2 separate regions of the Homo sapiens genome follow, and region 1 is linked to region 2. The links are contacts of gene promoters, found by promoter capture Hi-C in blood cells and fetal thymus (Javierre and others, 2016). All regions are on one chromosome and are shown on one strand. Each heading gives the region's core, a stretch centred on a gene start or on the middle of the fragment in contact. The rest is flanking DNA. Distances are from core to core; before and after follow the strand shown.

Evidence for each region. The method cuts DNA at HindIII sites, captures the fragments that hold promoters and counts their contacts. A CHiCAGO score of 5 or more calls a contact.
Region 1: a contact is called between a fragment that was not itself captured here and the fragment with the promoter of NIPA2 in region 2, in 3 of 17 cell types (fetal thymus, non-activated CD4 T cells and total CD4 T cells). The highest score is 11.9, in fetal thymus.

What each region holds. Positions count from the first base shown.
Region 1 is chr15:26,087,391-26,094,496 of GRCh38, reverse strand. LOC105370739 (a long non-coding RNA gene) reads left to right here. Exons shown (of 6, transcript XR_932005.3): 6 at 4,522-4,866. Among named protein-coding and RNA genes, the nearest start is that of TRE-TTC2-2, 8.6 kb to the right of the region's middle. The HindIII fragment of the contact is 2,017 bases long and covers 4,793-6,809 here.
Region 2 is chr15:22,837,127-22,844,270 of GRCh38, reverse strand. NIPA2 (NIPA magnesium transporter 2) reads right to left here and starts at 5,605. Exons shown (of 8, transcript NM_030922.7): 1 at 5,350-5,605; 2 at 4,481-4,616. RefSeq lists an enhancer at 5,479-5,708. The HindIII fragment of the contact is 4,457 bases long and covers 3,337-7,144 here.

The DNA of each region.
Region 1 (7,106 bases), core at 4,552-7,051, 3.3 Mb before region 2:
CCTTTCTGGTTTGATGTCTGTGTAACTTTGGCCATTTGTTGATCTTCTTCCCCTCCATGGACAATTTCTAGCTTCCCTTGTAGAATCTTCCTTTCTCTGATCCACCTTTGGAGAGTCTAGATTTTTTAAAAACTGCTAACCACCTCTTTGAAAATACCTCATACAGTCGTGGTTAAGTCAGAACCTTAATTGAGGCTTACTGGTTTTGCCTGTGAGGTTAGTTTTGATAAAGCTTAAAAGCCAGAAATATTCACCATTTGGCCTGGCTAAAGTAGGGTAATAAGAAATTTTAAAAAGCGCTATGGTTAAAAGTCAGCTTAATTAAAAGCAGATATCTAAGCCACGCATATATTTAAAGGGTCTTTATGATTTTTTCTCTTCTTGAATCTTCTTTTCTGGAGAAAAAAGGTTTTTTTCCTTCTCAGTTGGCTGAATAGCTTTTCTCCATTTTGTCTTGCCACTCTTGATGCACACAAGAGAGGATCTAAGAGAACTTCTTCTAACAGCTTGGGACTCCTTGGGGAAAATGGAGGAGGTGCCATAGATCCTGCTTTGGGAAAAACCTGTTTTCCTCGTGAAACCCCAGGAATTGAAAGTAGATAGATCCCTCTCAAAATCTATGGCTAAATATAATTTTAGGGATGGCTAATGGTAACTATGGGGGACACACAGCTTTTTGCACATTTGGATCAGAAAAGCATGCTCACGGCCAGCTAGAAAGTATGGAAATGCCCCCACCCCGGCTGAGAGATAAGACTCCCCTGGGGGATGGGCTGATCACAGAATGGACTGATCAGCTTTGGGTTACTTTGCAATCAAATGCACAGGAAAATGATTGCACTGTCTTGTTCCACAGCATTTCTCTTTTGGGGATCCAGGAGTCAGTATGATAATAGAACCCTGTATTTTGGGGGATCTGTTTTGCCTTCCAGCTGTGCCTGTTTATTAGACCCTAAAAAATAACTGCGTGTTTTCCTAGCCCTGTTCCTCCAAGGACTCCACCATGAAGCCAGTAATCCAATTAAGAAACTTTAAAACTGGCAAATGAAAAATCTTACAACTGCTGGATCTTCTTCTGTCTTTCTGTGTATTTATATTATTGCACATGTGATGTTTATATATGAAAGAGCTCTGATTAATTGGCTTAAAAATAATAAGTGCTTAAATCAAATATTTTGTCAGAAAAGTAAAAAATGTAATGCTTTTTAGTTCACATGACTTCAGTAATCTTTGGGAAATAGAAACAGCTATAAAGGTTATTGGTAAAATAAAGACATTTGGTCTAAATTAGGCAAGTCAGATATTAGGTTTACTAAATACTTTAAGGTCATAAACTGCTTTGACTTTTGAAAAGTGTTCGACTGAACTGCTTCAGAGCTATTAGATTCTAAATAAGGCCTGGGGACAAGTGGAGTTACCCATGCCCCTGGCTATGCTGGAAAGAGTCAGACTTTATCTGCACTTCTGTCTGGTGTTCTAGGTTCCAGACTTGGTACATAATCAGAATCGCTCACTTACCAGGTTTTTCACCAAAAATAAAACTTGCTAAGTGAGGCTGGGTGCGGTGGCTCACGCCTATAATCCCAGCACTTTGGGAGGCTGAGGCTGGCAGATCACCTGAGGTCAGGAGTTTGAGACCAGCCTGGCCAACACAGAGAAACCCCGTCTCTACTAAAAATACAAAACTTAGCCAGGAGTGGTGTGAGTGCCTGTAATCCCAGCTGCTCGAAAGGCTGAGGCAGGAGAACCACTTGAACCTGGGAGGTGGAGGTTGCAGTGAGCCAAGATCATGTGACTGCACTCCAGTCTGGGTAACAGAGCAAGACTCCATCTCCAAAAAAATAATTAAAAAAAAAAAAAAAAGTTGCTGAGTGTTAACATTGTAACATATAATTGAGACTACTGAAGGAACAGTTTTACATGCAGGGGGTATAAAGAAAGTGAAATGTGTTTTTAGTAAAAGATCATAAGAAGTCATGGGAATGTGGATATTTTTGCCTAGATTAAAGGGTTAAAGAATTGTTTTAGGTTAGATAAGGATAAAGCTGAAGGTTTAAGCAAGTTGTGGAAGGTTTGTGAAAAGTTAATCTTGTAAAAGTAACTCTGTGTGTGAACTTACTGAGTAAAGTTAAAGGGGTTTTATTCAGTTTTTCCATAAGTTACATATTGGAATAAAAGCTCAACAGGGTTTTCTTAGAGCACTGATCTGCTCTTTAACAAAAATTTGTAAAGGGTTATAAAGGGTTTATGAGAATCTCACCTTATGATCAAACTGATTAAGATTAAATAGATTTGTCTATAAGGTTTTATTAAAGATTGGGGTTGACATTAATAGTATCCTAATTCAAGGGTGAAACTTGGCTTTTTCTCTTCAACAAGATTTTCATGTAACAATAACGAAATTGTTTCATATAAACAATTGTTTCATGTAAACAATTCGTAAAAACGAATTGTTTCATGTAAACAATAACGAAAGATTTTACTTTGCCTTTTGAATAAACTACTGAATAAAGAAGGGAAAAACAAGAGACAGATGGTTTGGAAAGCTAAGTCTTCCTTCTATCAATAAGTGAAGATTTTTGCCTTTTTAAAAGTTTCGAGTTAGTATTTTGACTAAATGAATGATTTATGGTGACCTAGAATTCTATTTCATAATATCAAGTGTTTCAAACCGTTAACATATTTTATAGGTGAAACCGCCATTGCTAAATTGTCACTGAGATAGTGAAAGAGATCTGACCTAACCGACTCCATCTTGCTTCTAATCTCCAAGCTGTCTTTGTTCATTCCTGGGTGTAGGCTGAACTATCTTTGGGAGAAACTTTGTTTATAGTTTATAATTTAAAACAAACATGGTAACAGTCCTTTCCCAAAAGAAACCCCTTTCTTGCCTGGGGACTAGACTGCCCTTATAGTCAAATTAGCAAATTAGCCACAGATTAGAAATTATGGCTTAGGAGTCATGCAGCTGAGGCTACAAGAGTCTGACCCTCCCTAAACTGCTCCTAAAATCAGTGCTTGAGGTATTTTGCAGCCCCTGCACTTGATGGATCAGCTGACACCATCCAGACTGACAAACTGGCTTATCTGGTCTTGTGGTCCCCACCCAGGAAATGACCCAGCACAAGAAGACAGCTTCAACTCCCTATGATTTCACCTCGGACCTGACCAATCAGCATTTGCAGTTCACTGGCTTCCCCCGACTCACCAAGCTGGTCTTAAAAATTCTGATCCCCGAATGCTCAGGAAGACTGACTTGAGTAATAATAAAACTCTGGTCTCCCACACAGCTGGCTCTGCATGAATTACGCTTTCTTGATTGCAATTCCCCTGTCTTGATAAATTGGCTTTGTCTAGGCAGTGGGCAAGGTGAACCCACTGGGTGGTTACACAGGCTTCCCAAAATCAAATTTCATCTTCAAAATCGTCTCTTCTGACCTCTAACTTTGACATGCTACAGAGGGCCCCTGAAGACTTTAAAAGAGGTCAACAGGATTATTTGACATGTTAAGTTACATGGGAAGCTCTGTAAAAGTAAAAAATAATGTTTAACATTCTTCATGTTATATTTTAGTGAATGATGTTAATATATGTTCCAAAATTGTATGGGATTGCTAAAATTCGAATATGTCTGGTATATGCTATCAATCATAATATGTTAAGTTATTTTAGACCACAGAAATAACCAAATTTCCTTGTCAAGTGTGGCTTTAATTATGACTATTTAAAGCCATTTCCACAGTTAATTGCTTAATGCTGATGCAGTTTCTGAAAACTTCACAAGCACACCAAATCCTAGAATATGGTGTCTTTTGGGAGGTTCATGAAAGGATGGAAAAGACCCTGAAAATCACTCTTGTATACAGGTTTCTGGTAACTTTAAAATCATATCATTTGGACTGGGTAATAATTCCTGGAACTTTAATGAAAAGACTGACTGGGTTACAAAACTGCTAACCCAAGTAAAATAAAAATTAATTGAATACCAAGAAAATACTTTGCAAGATTTTCACGCTAAATCAGCCAATACTGAAATTGTTTAGATATACAAATTGAATGAACTCCATGGTCTAAGTCAAATTACCTATGTTAACCCATCAGTTATCAGCATTATGTATCTAAATTGGAGAAGTAACTGGTATTCGAGAAGACATAAGTCCAATGTTAAGCATGGACTCATGGAGAACCAGGACAGTCACCTTGTCCTTTCTGACTCTTTAAAGATTTTATTAAAAGCTCTGCATTCCATGACTCATCACAGAAAAGATAAAATGACCCAAATTAAATATACATTGGCATGAATTCTAAATTGCTAAAATAGTTTATGACCAATGTTTGGTTTTTCAAACCTATACTCCTGGGAAGACAATCAAAGCTTCAGGTACATTTGGCTACCCAATGGGTCATTTAAACATTTATGGAGGGATTTCATTTAATTGTCATTTTCAGTGAATATTTTCTGGTTGTATGAAAGCTTTACCATGCAAGAGGACTGATGTTATAACAATAATTATGTCACAGGCAAAAAAACTTTTTATGGTTCACTGAGGACAATCAACTCCTTCACAATCTAGAACCCGAAGATTGGATCCTCTGAGACATCAGAGAAAGATTGCTTTAGCCATCCTCACTGCAGTAAAACTTCAGGACCTCGAGCCTTGGGTTCATAATCTCACAACTGAGAAGGGTCCCTCCACACTGTTGAACTGTACACCCATTGGAACCCTTAAGGTAAAGCTAACCAGGGAAGTTTCTCCCTAAGAAGAAGATGGCATCCTTGATGCAAAAAGCTTTTCCCAACATCACAGATCAAGACTTCTATTATCATGAGACTCTTATCTTTGAATACTTTTCCCCTTGCTTATGCCTGTATGAACAATACAAGTGGAAAAGGGGTCTGTTGTGTGCACTCATGGGGTATACTTTTAGTTATGAAGGATTTTGCAGCCAGCCTTATACATGGATAACCTTATATCTTGACAGATGAAAGATGAAGGCCCGATGTAGGTGAGAAACAGAAACTTTAATGGTACACACTTTGCCTCGTAATCAGTCAGAAACAGAGCATTGGTTCACTCCTCTTAACCCACATCATGGGTTAAAGAGAACATTACCAGGAGAGCTTCACTCTTCTAGAAGGGCATCATTTGTTAGGTCCTTTTTTCCATGGTTTCGAGTAAAAAAGGCAATGATGAGAAATGTTTCCCTCATGATAGGCTCTATAGCAGATTCTACTGTAAAAGCCATGGTTACACAGCAGACTTTAAATTATCTTGTGAAAATTATGCTAAATAATAGAACTGGCTAAACAGAAAACTATCTGTGTCACTGTTGACACTTGTGGCCTATAGAGAAATATATCAAAAGTAGATTACAGAGATTCAGTTGTAAAGGATTAGCAAAGAGACCACTTAATTAAGCAAGTCGACTCTTTAGCTCATTCTTTGATCTATTTAATTTTAGGTGATTTGGTTTATGGGGGTCTTGGGTAGGGAGGATACTCCAAACTCTTGCTATTATCCCCCTGATAGTTATAATAGTAGTCTCCCTGGTATGCTGTATTCTCTCAAAAGTTTTAAATGTTTGCATGCAGCCATCTCTAAAATGTCAAATGGTCTTTCTTCAACTGGAATGACAAGAACTGAAAGAAATGTGTGACCATGACGACATCGTAACCTATGAATGACCACATTGAGACCAGAAACCCAAACTGATGGTACTGAAAGTGGCACTAAAGCCCTTAGTTTTGGTCACACTTTCACCTAAGTGAGAACCTGACCCAAAAGGAGGAATTTTTAAACAAAATTATGAGAGGCCATTGTTTTGGACTGAGCTCATGCACTAGGCCCCAAAAGGACCAGACCAAACCAAAATGGAGTCACTCACGTTAAATGTGATGTAATCAAACTAAGACTTTAAGGAAACACACAGATCCTAGAACAGATCAGGTTTTGTTTTTCTCCTGTAAACAGGACGTTCCAGCATAAGGAGGTACCTTCTACTCAGTCCTTGCTCCTACCTTGCAAAACCCACTGTTCTACCATTTCCCAGTGGGTTTAAAGACCAAATAAGTATATTTACAATGGTTACAGTGACATCAATGACTAAAGTTTTGATCTCTCTAATTTGGGGTGAAATTGTTAAATCAAGTTTAGCCTAAAGCTGCCTCCTTACATATTTTAAGTTCAGCCTAAAGGTTTCTCTGCACATGGTGAACTACAACAAGTGGAAGTGTAAACAGACCGCAGCCTACACTTGTGCCAATCACTGAGTTTTGGCCAATCAAATGTAGCCAACTGTTCAAACTGTTCAAATAAGGCAAACACCAAGCTGTACCCAATCCAGCTCTTTCTGTACCTCACTTCCATTTTCTGTGTGTCACTTTCCTTTTTCTGTCCATCAGTCTTCTTCCACCCCATGGCTGTGCTGGAGTCTCAGAGTCTACTCTGGCTCAGGAGGCTGCCTGATTCATGAATCATTCATTGCTTAAACCCCTTTACATTTAATTCAGCTGAAGTTTTTTTTAATCAGTGGTATGATGAGAATAATCCTCTTGGGATGGGGATGGAGGCACCATGGCACAGAAGTCAATTCCGGGAGGATTTCTTTTTTGAACTATTCATTTATTTAGGAGTGCTTCTATAATGAAGTTACATTCAAGCTGAGTCTTGCTGACAGGTACACATTTCTTAGGTAGAGAAAAATGGACAAATAACATGCATAAAATAGGGGAAAGAAAGGATTTTAGGAAGAAACAAATCAGACAAAAGAAAAATGTTTTCAAGCAGTTGGGTGTGTTAGGAGAAGCTTCAAGGATCTGAAGCAGAGAAGTGAGGCTGTGGGTTGGGGCATGAGTCAGATGCTAATAACCTTCCCGAATTGCTAAGGAATTTGAACGTGATCTGATATGATTAATGCCATTAAAGGGTTTTAAACTGTGGACTTGCCTAATCGTATTAGACAGAGGACAAACCTGGGGCATGAGAGACCAGCGAGGAAGCCTATCCAACAGTTCTGGAGGGACCCAGTGAAGACCCACACTCACTGATAATAGGACCTAAGGGAGAACATTGACAGGAATGTTTAACTCTTTCCTTTCAGCCGGA
Region 2 (7,144 bases), core at 4,356-6,855:
CAATTTTCACAATTGATTTTACTAATATTTGTAATGTGAACTTTCATTAAACATAAAGCATGTCAAAAATGGAATAAATACATCTCAAATAAAAGAAAATTATGAAATTAGTCCACTTTCTTAAAAAATGTGGAAAACACATGATTTAAGAAACAGGCAAAAATGGACTAGTATTCTAATAAGGAAAACCTAAACTAGGACCTGCTTTGCAAAATGATTATCAGTAGGCAACACAATCACCAAAGTTAGCAAACTTTAAAAATTACACCAACTGGGCCGAGCACGGCGGCTCACATCTGTAACCCCAGCACCTTGGGAGGCCGAGGTGGGAGATCACCTGAGGCCAGGAGTTCGAGACCAGCCTGGCCAACATGGTGAAACCCCATCTCTACAAAACATACCTGGCCAACCTGGTGAAACCCCATCTCTACAAAAACATAAAAATTATTTTTTTGTATTTGCCATGAGGGCGGGTGCCTGTAATCCCAGCTACTGGTGAGGCTAAGGAAGGAGAATCTATTGAACCTGGGAGGTGGAGGTTGCAGTGAGCCAAGATTGCACCACTGCACTCCAGCCTGGGCCACAGGGCGAGACTCCGTCTCAAAAAAAAAAAGGAAAAAATTGAAAAAATTACACCAAATGAAGTGCATAGACAGCCTTAAACTTTTCACAGCACTTTTGACATTTCAACAAAGCCTTAATTAAAAAGATATGTGGTAAGGGCCCACAATGAGGAACCAGGTCCAGAGATTTTTTTTTTTTTTTTAGATGGAGTCTCGCTCTGTCCCCCAGGCTGGAGTGCAGTGGCGCTATCTCGGCTCACTGCAAGCTCTGCCTCCCGGGTTCACGCCATTCTCCTGTCTCAGCCTCCTGAGTAGCTGGGACTACAGGCACCCACCACCATGCATGGCTAATTTTTTTGTATTTTTAGTAGAGACGGGGGTTTCACCATGTTAGCCAGGATGGTCTCGATCTCCTGACCTCGTGATCCAACAGCCTTGGCCTCCTAAAGTGCTGGGATTACAGGCGTGAGCCACCGCACCTGGCCCAAGTCCAGAGATGTTAAGTAACACGTCACACAGCTGAGGTAGCAGAAGCAGAACTATAATCCAGGCCTCCTCATCTCTGCCAATCTCAGCCTTCTGCTGAAGAATTTGGAATCACGACCCCTGTTTGTAGCAAGAAGACCAAATTGTGTAAACTAGTAACAAAGACCCTGCATCATTTGTTCCAAACCTACCTTTTAGATCTCTCTTTTTTTTTTTTTTGAGACAGAGTCTCACTCTGTTGCCCAGGCTGGAGTGCAGTGACGCAATCTCTGCTCACTGCAAGCTCCGCCTCCTGGGTTCATGCCATTCTCCTGCCTCTGCCTCCCGAGTAGCTGGGACTACAGGCGCCCACCACTACACTAGGCAAATTTTTTGCATTTTTTAATTTTTTTGGATGCAGAGTCTCGCTCTATCCCCCAGGCTGGAGTGCGCTGGCGCAATCTTGGCTCACTGCAACCTCTGCCTCCCAGGTTCAAGTGATTCTCCTGCCTCAGCCTCCTGAGTATCTGGGATTACAGGTGCCTGCAACCACGCCCAGCTAATTTTTGTATTTTTAGTAGAGATGGGGTTTCGCCATGTTGGTCAGGCTGGTCTTGAACTCCTGACCTCGGGTGATCCTTCTGCCTCGGCCTCCCAAAGTGCTGGGATTACAGGCGTGAGTTACCGTGCCCGGCCAATATTTTGGGTTTTTTTTTTAGTAGAGATGGGGTTTCACCATGTTAGCCAGGATGGTCTCGATCTCCTGACCTTGTGATCCACCCACCTCAGCCTCCCAAAGTGCTGGGATTACAGGCGTAAGCCACCGCGCCCAGCCTAGATCTTATTTCCCCATACCATATTTCACACATCCTGTGTTCTACCCCGGTCAGCACTCTGCTGCTATTCTAACCTGCTCCTACCTTTCCTCCTCCATATTTGGTTGACACTAACTACCCCTCTGTTACGGTTACTTTGGTACTTAACTAGTATTGCCTTCACTGTGGCTCCCAGTGAACATGTGGCTTGCTTATATCATTTACTCAACCAACCAACGTTTACTGAGCATGTACAATATTCTAGGAGCAGGGGTACAACAGCCCACATGGGGTTATCTCCTGCTAGAGGTAGGGCGAAATAATAAACGAAATAAAGACATTATTCTGGAAAAGTGGCAAATGTTATGGTAAAAAATAAAACATGTGAAGGGCACTGGGGAGTTGAGTTGGGGGATTCTAATGACCATAGTTAGGAGGCCTTGCTGAGCAGTAACACTTGAGTAGAAGCTTCAAAGAGCTTTTTGAAAAGAACAAAGGAGAGAGAAGCAAGTGCAGGGGCTCTGAGGTATGAGCGGGTGTGCAGTTTCCTAAACAAAGGCCACTGTGGCTGACCTTGAGTGAGGGCAGGTGAGATACATTAGCGTGAAAAAGCGAGTGTCCGGCCGGGCGCGGTGGCTCACGCCTATAATCCCAGCACTTTGGGAGGTCGAGGCGGGTGGATCATGAGGTCAGGAGTTCGAGACCAGCCTGACCAACATGGTGAAACCCCGACTCTACTAAAAATACAAAAATCAGCCAGGCATGGTGGCGGGCGCCTGTAATCCCAGCTACTCGGGAGGCTGAGGCAGGAGAATCGCTAGAAACTGGAGGGCGGAGGTTGCAGTGAGCCGAGATCGCACAGCTGCACTCTAGCCTGGGCAACAAGAGCAAAACTGCATCTCAGAAGAAAAAAAAAGGTGAGTGTCAGATCACGTGGGGCCCTATGGGCCATACACAAACCCAAAAGGCAAGGAACAGATCTGCAACCCATTTATTTGGCCAGATCATAATTTATTTTCATCTGGAGCCATTACAGAACTATTTAAGTAGTTCTGTTTCAACTTCATTTACATAAAACAAATAGATATGCAGAAATGTTTAAGGATGCTCTAATCTAGTCTGAGGGGTGTATTTAATTCTACAACACAGATAAATCTTTGCAAATTGTGTATATTTGAGATTTATGTTATGGGAAACATACAGATACTAACACAGTTACCACAGTAGAGCAAATCAACATATCTATCATCTCATGTAGTTACTTTTTTATGACAAAAGCAGCTAAAATCTACTCATTGAAGGAAAATCTCTAATACAATTTCATTAGCTGTAGTTCTCAAGTTGTACATCCTGAATATCTGCTACTTTGTATCCTGTGACCTAAATCTCCCATTTCCTCTCCCACCCCCACCCCACCTTTTATTCTCTGCAGAAGTCTTATCTTTCTGTTCAATATCACAATGTATAGCAATCAAATAAATCAGTTTAAATGAAGCTTACACCATCTATAAAAAAATGTAATATTCAAAGTCATGTGTTTTAAATATGAGTAAACCATATTTACCTATTAAAAACATTCTGAAAATATGTGAAATTCTTTTTATTATCTCTCCCTAACAATAGCTACCACTTACTGAACACCTCCCCAGGCACTATTCCATGCATCATTTCTACTCATTTCTCTTCTACGCAATAAGATGAAGGTATCACTTTACAGCTAAGGAAACCTCCCAGGGGTAAAAAAGAGTCACATGCAGAGGACCACACAGAAAGGGACTTTACTTCTACACCCGGCTGCCCACATTACATTAACACTTTAGAGCTCTTAGGTCGGGCGCGGTGGCTCACGCCTGTAATCCCAGCACTTTGGGGGGTCGAGGCGGGCGGATCACCTGAGGTCAGGAGTTAAGAGACCAGCCTGGCCAACAAGGTGAAACCCCCGTCTCTACTAAAAATACAAAAATTAGCTGGGCGTGGTCGCCGGCGCCTGTAACCCCAGCTACTCCGGAGGCTGAGGCAGGAGAACCGCTTGAACCCAGGAGGCGGAGGTTGCAGTGAGCAGAGATCGTGCCACTGCACTCCAGCCCGAGTGACAGAGCAAGATTCCATCTCAAAAAAAAAAAAACAAAAAAAAAAACTATATATAGAGCTCTTAGTTTTCTACGAAATCTTTACTACCTGGTTTCCACTGCTATCTAAGTTAGCTTAGGCCCGGCTCGGTGGCTCACACCTGTAATCCCCGCACTTTGGAGGCCAAGGTGGTTGGATCGCTTAAGTCCAGAATTAGGAGACCAGCCGGTGTAACATGGTGAAACCCCGGTTCTAAAAAAAATACAAAAATTAGCCAGGCATGGTGCCGCACGTCTGTGGTCCCAGCTGCTGGGGAGGCTGAGGTGGGAGGAGCACTTGAGCCCGGGAGGCGGAAGTTGCAGTGAGCCCAGATTGCACCGTCTAGCCTGGGGACAGAGCAAGACCTTGGCTCAGAAAAATTAAATACATGTTAGATTTAATTTTTTCCAACCTCTCACTTGGCTAATAATTTTTCAAAGCAGTACTGTACTTATAAATATTACAGAACCTAAATCTCCAACCCTAACTATGCAACAATATTAGTTATAAATTACAATTTTAACTTACATGTAAGTTTAATATGGTCTCTCTTATGAAAAAAAGGCTGGGAGAGGTTAGAGATGACTTATTCACTCTCATTTCCTCGTAAATACCACCCTTTATTCTCATTTAAAGTCTTAAACCCTGGCCGAGTAGCTCCAGCCTAGAAAGAAGAAAACACAGAAGTAGGCAAAAGACTTAAAGTTACTAAGTACGTTTTATAATTTGGTTACTAGCCTTCATACTCATTTTGCCAACCAATCAACATAAAACCTACTCAATCGAGCACAACTACTGCTTCGACAGGCAGCTTACTGGAATGGAAACTCTCGACTCTGATATTTCCTCTTACTAAAAAAAGTATTAACCGGGCACATGGCTATACACAGGATTTCTAGAAACAGAACTTAACATGCAGTCCTGTATTAAATGAACTAACAACCTAGAAAAGAAATTAAGGAGGCACAAACACCAAACTAAACACACAGTTTTGAGCAATTGTATAGAGAGGGAAATAGGATTCCGTGATTTTATAAAAGGAAATTAAAACAGTCAGGCTCAAAACGTCACAGCAGACTTCTAAGGCTTGTTTAACTGTCAGTTATGATCCCCGCAGCAGCTGAAGCCACCTTCTAAAACTCACCAAGACAAATGAAATTATTTTAATGAACTTAATGAACATGCGTCCCCGACATGGCCAACGAGCCAGGCTTCCGTGGGACTGAACGGCAATCCGATTCACGGTGGGTTTCCTCACTGAGGATTACAGGAAAACCGCTTCAGAACACCCGGAAAGGAAAGTTGCCCGAAGAACCCTTCTCCGACACAAGGCGGGCTGGCTCGCCACCAAGTCAGCCCCTTCGCGCTTGCCTGAAAGGAAGGAGTGGCGACCTCACCCTAGTCGGCCGGCCGGCCGCGCGGCTTCCCCTCGCCGGCGCAGCCTTGGGCACCGCGGCTCACACCCCCACACAGGCCGCCCAGTCCTGCGCTCGCACGGCCACCGCCTTCGTCGCCGTCCAGTGGGAGATGCGAGCATTCGGGGCTGAAGCCGTTCGCACCGCCTCCTCCATGGAGAAGCGCCGAGGAAAACCTGCCAAGGACAACCTCCGGCACCGCCGTCACCACCGCTGCCGGGACCTAGGGCCGGCGCCGGAAAACCTAGGCGCGGCTAAATGACGCAAGAGGCCTCGCGCGCACGCGCAGTGCCGCACCACGTACACCCCGCCCCCGGGGCTCTCTCCCGCCGGGTTCCGGTTCCTTTACAAGGCCCCAGTCGGCTGAGCGCGGAGGGCGGGGCGCGTAGAGTGTGGGGACGGGGGCGGGGCGCAGGATCCAGGCGGGACCTGGCGAGGGACGAAGCTGGAAGCGTAGTTAAGCAGTACAGTATGCTGCCAGGTGGCGTTGGCCGATCAGTTCAAAATCAAACTCCGGCGTGGCCCTTATTTAAAACGAGGATTCCGGGCCCGGCGCTGTGGCTCACGCCTGTAATCCCAGCACTTTGGGAGACCAAGGCGGGCGGATCCCGAGGTCAGCAGATCGAGACCATCCTGGCTAACACGGTGAAACCCCGCCCCTACTAAAAATACAAAAAATTAGCCGGGCGTGGTGGCGGGTGCTTGTAGTCCCAGCTACTCGGGACACTGAGGCAGGAGAAGGGCGCGAACCCGGGAGGCGGAGCTTGCAGTGATCGGAGATCCCGCCACTGCACTCCAGCCTGGGCGACAGAGCGAGACTCCGTCTCAAAAAAAAATAGAATAAATGAGGGTTCCGGCCGGGCGCGGTGGCTCACACCTGTAATCACAGCACTTTGGGAGGCCGAGGCGGGCAGATCACGAGGTCAGGAGTTCGAGACCAACGTGACCAACATGGGGAAACCGCATCTCTACTAAAAATACAAAAATTAGCTGGACGTGTTGGTGCGCGCCAGTAATCTCAGCTACTCCAGAGGCTGAGGCAGGGGAATCGCTTGAACTCGGGAGGCGGAGGTTGCAGTGAGCCGAGATCAGCCACTGCACTCCACCTGGGCGACAGAGCGAGACTCCTTCTCAAAAATAAATAAATAAATAAAATAAAATGAGGGTTCCCAGGGGCAGTCACAGTGTGAAGCTGCATTTAATTGGTGTCCCCGGGCGATGCCAAAGGGGAACAGAGCTCCCAAGAGGGCAAGAAGCGGGGGAAAGGGTGGGTCCAAAGCTGGGGGCGGGACGGGGCGGGGCCGAAATAGCTGTGGTAGTTCGACGACCGCTGGGCCCTTCCTTACTGACCCGGTCGCGGAATAGATGTGAGGTTGACGTTTGGTGAAAGCCCGCCTCGAGACACTGAGAGCAGATTGATTGAATGATTGATTTTGAGACAGAGTCTCGCTCTGTCGCCAGACTGGAGTGCAGTGGCACGATCTCGGCTCACTGCAAACTCCGCCTCCCCGGTTCAAGCGATTCTCCTGCCTCAGCCTCCCGAATAGCTGGGACTGTAGGCGCGCGCCGCCACGCCCGGCTAATTTTTTTTTTTTTTTAAGACGGAGTCTTTCTTGTCACCCAGGCTGGAGCGCAGTGACACGATCTCGGCTCACTGCAACCTCTGCCTCCTGGGTTCAATGAAGCCATTCTCCTGCCTCAGCCTCCCCAGTAGCTGGGATTACAGGTGCACACCACCACGCCCAGCTAATTTTTGTATTTTTAGTAGAGATGGGGT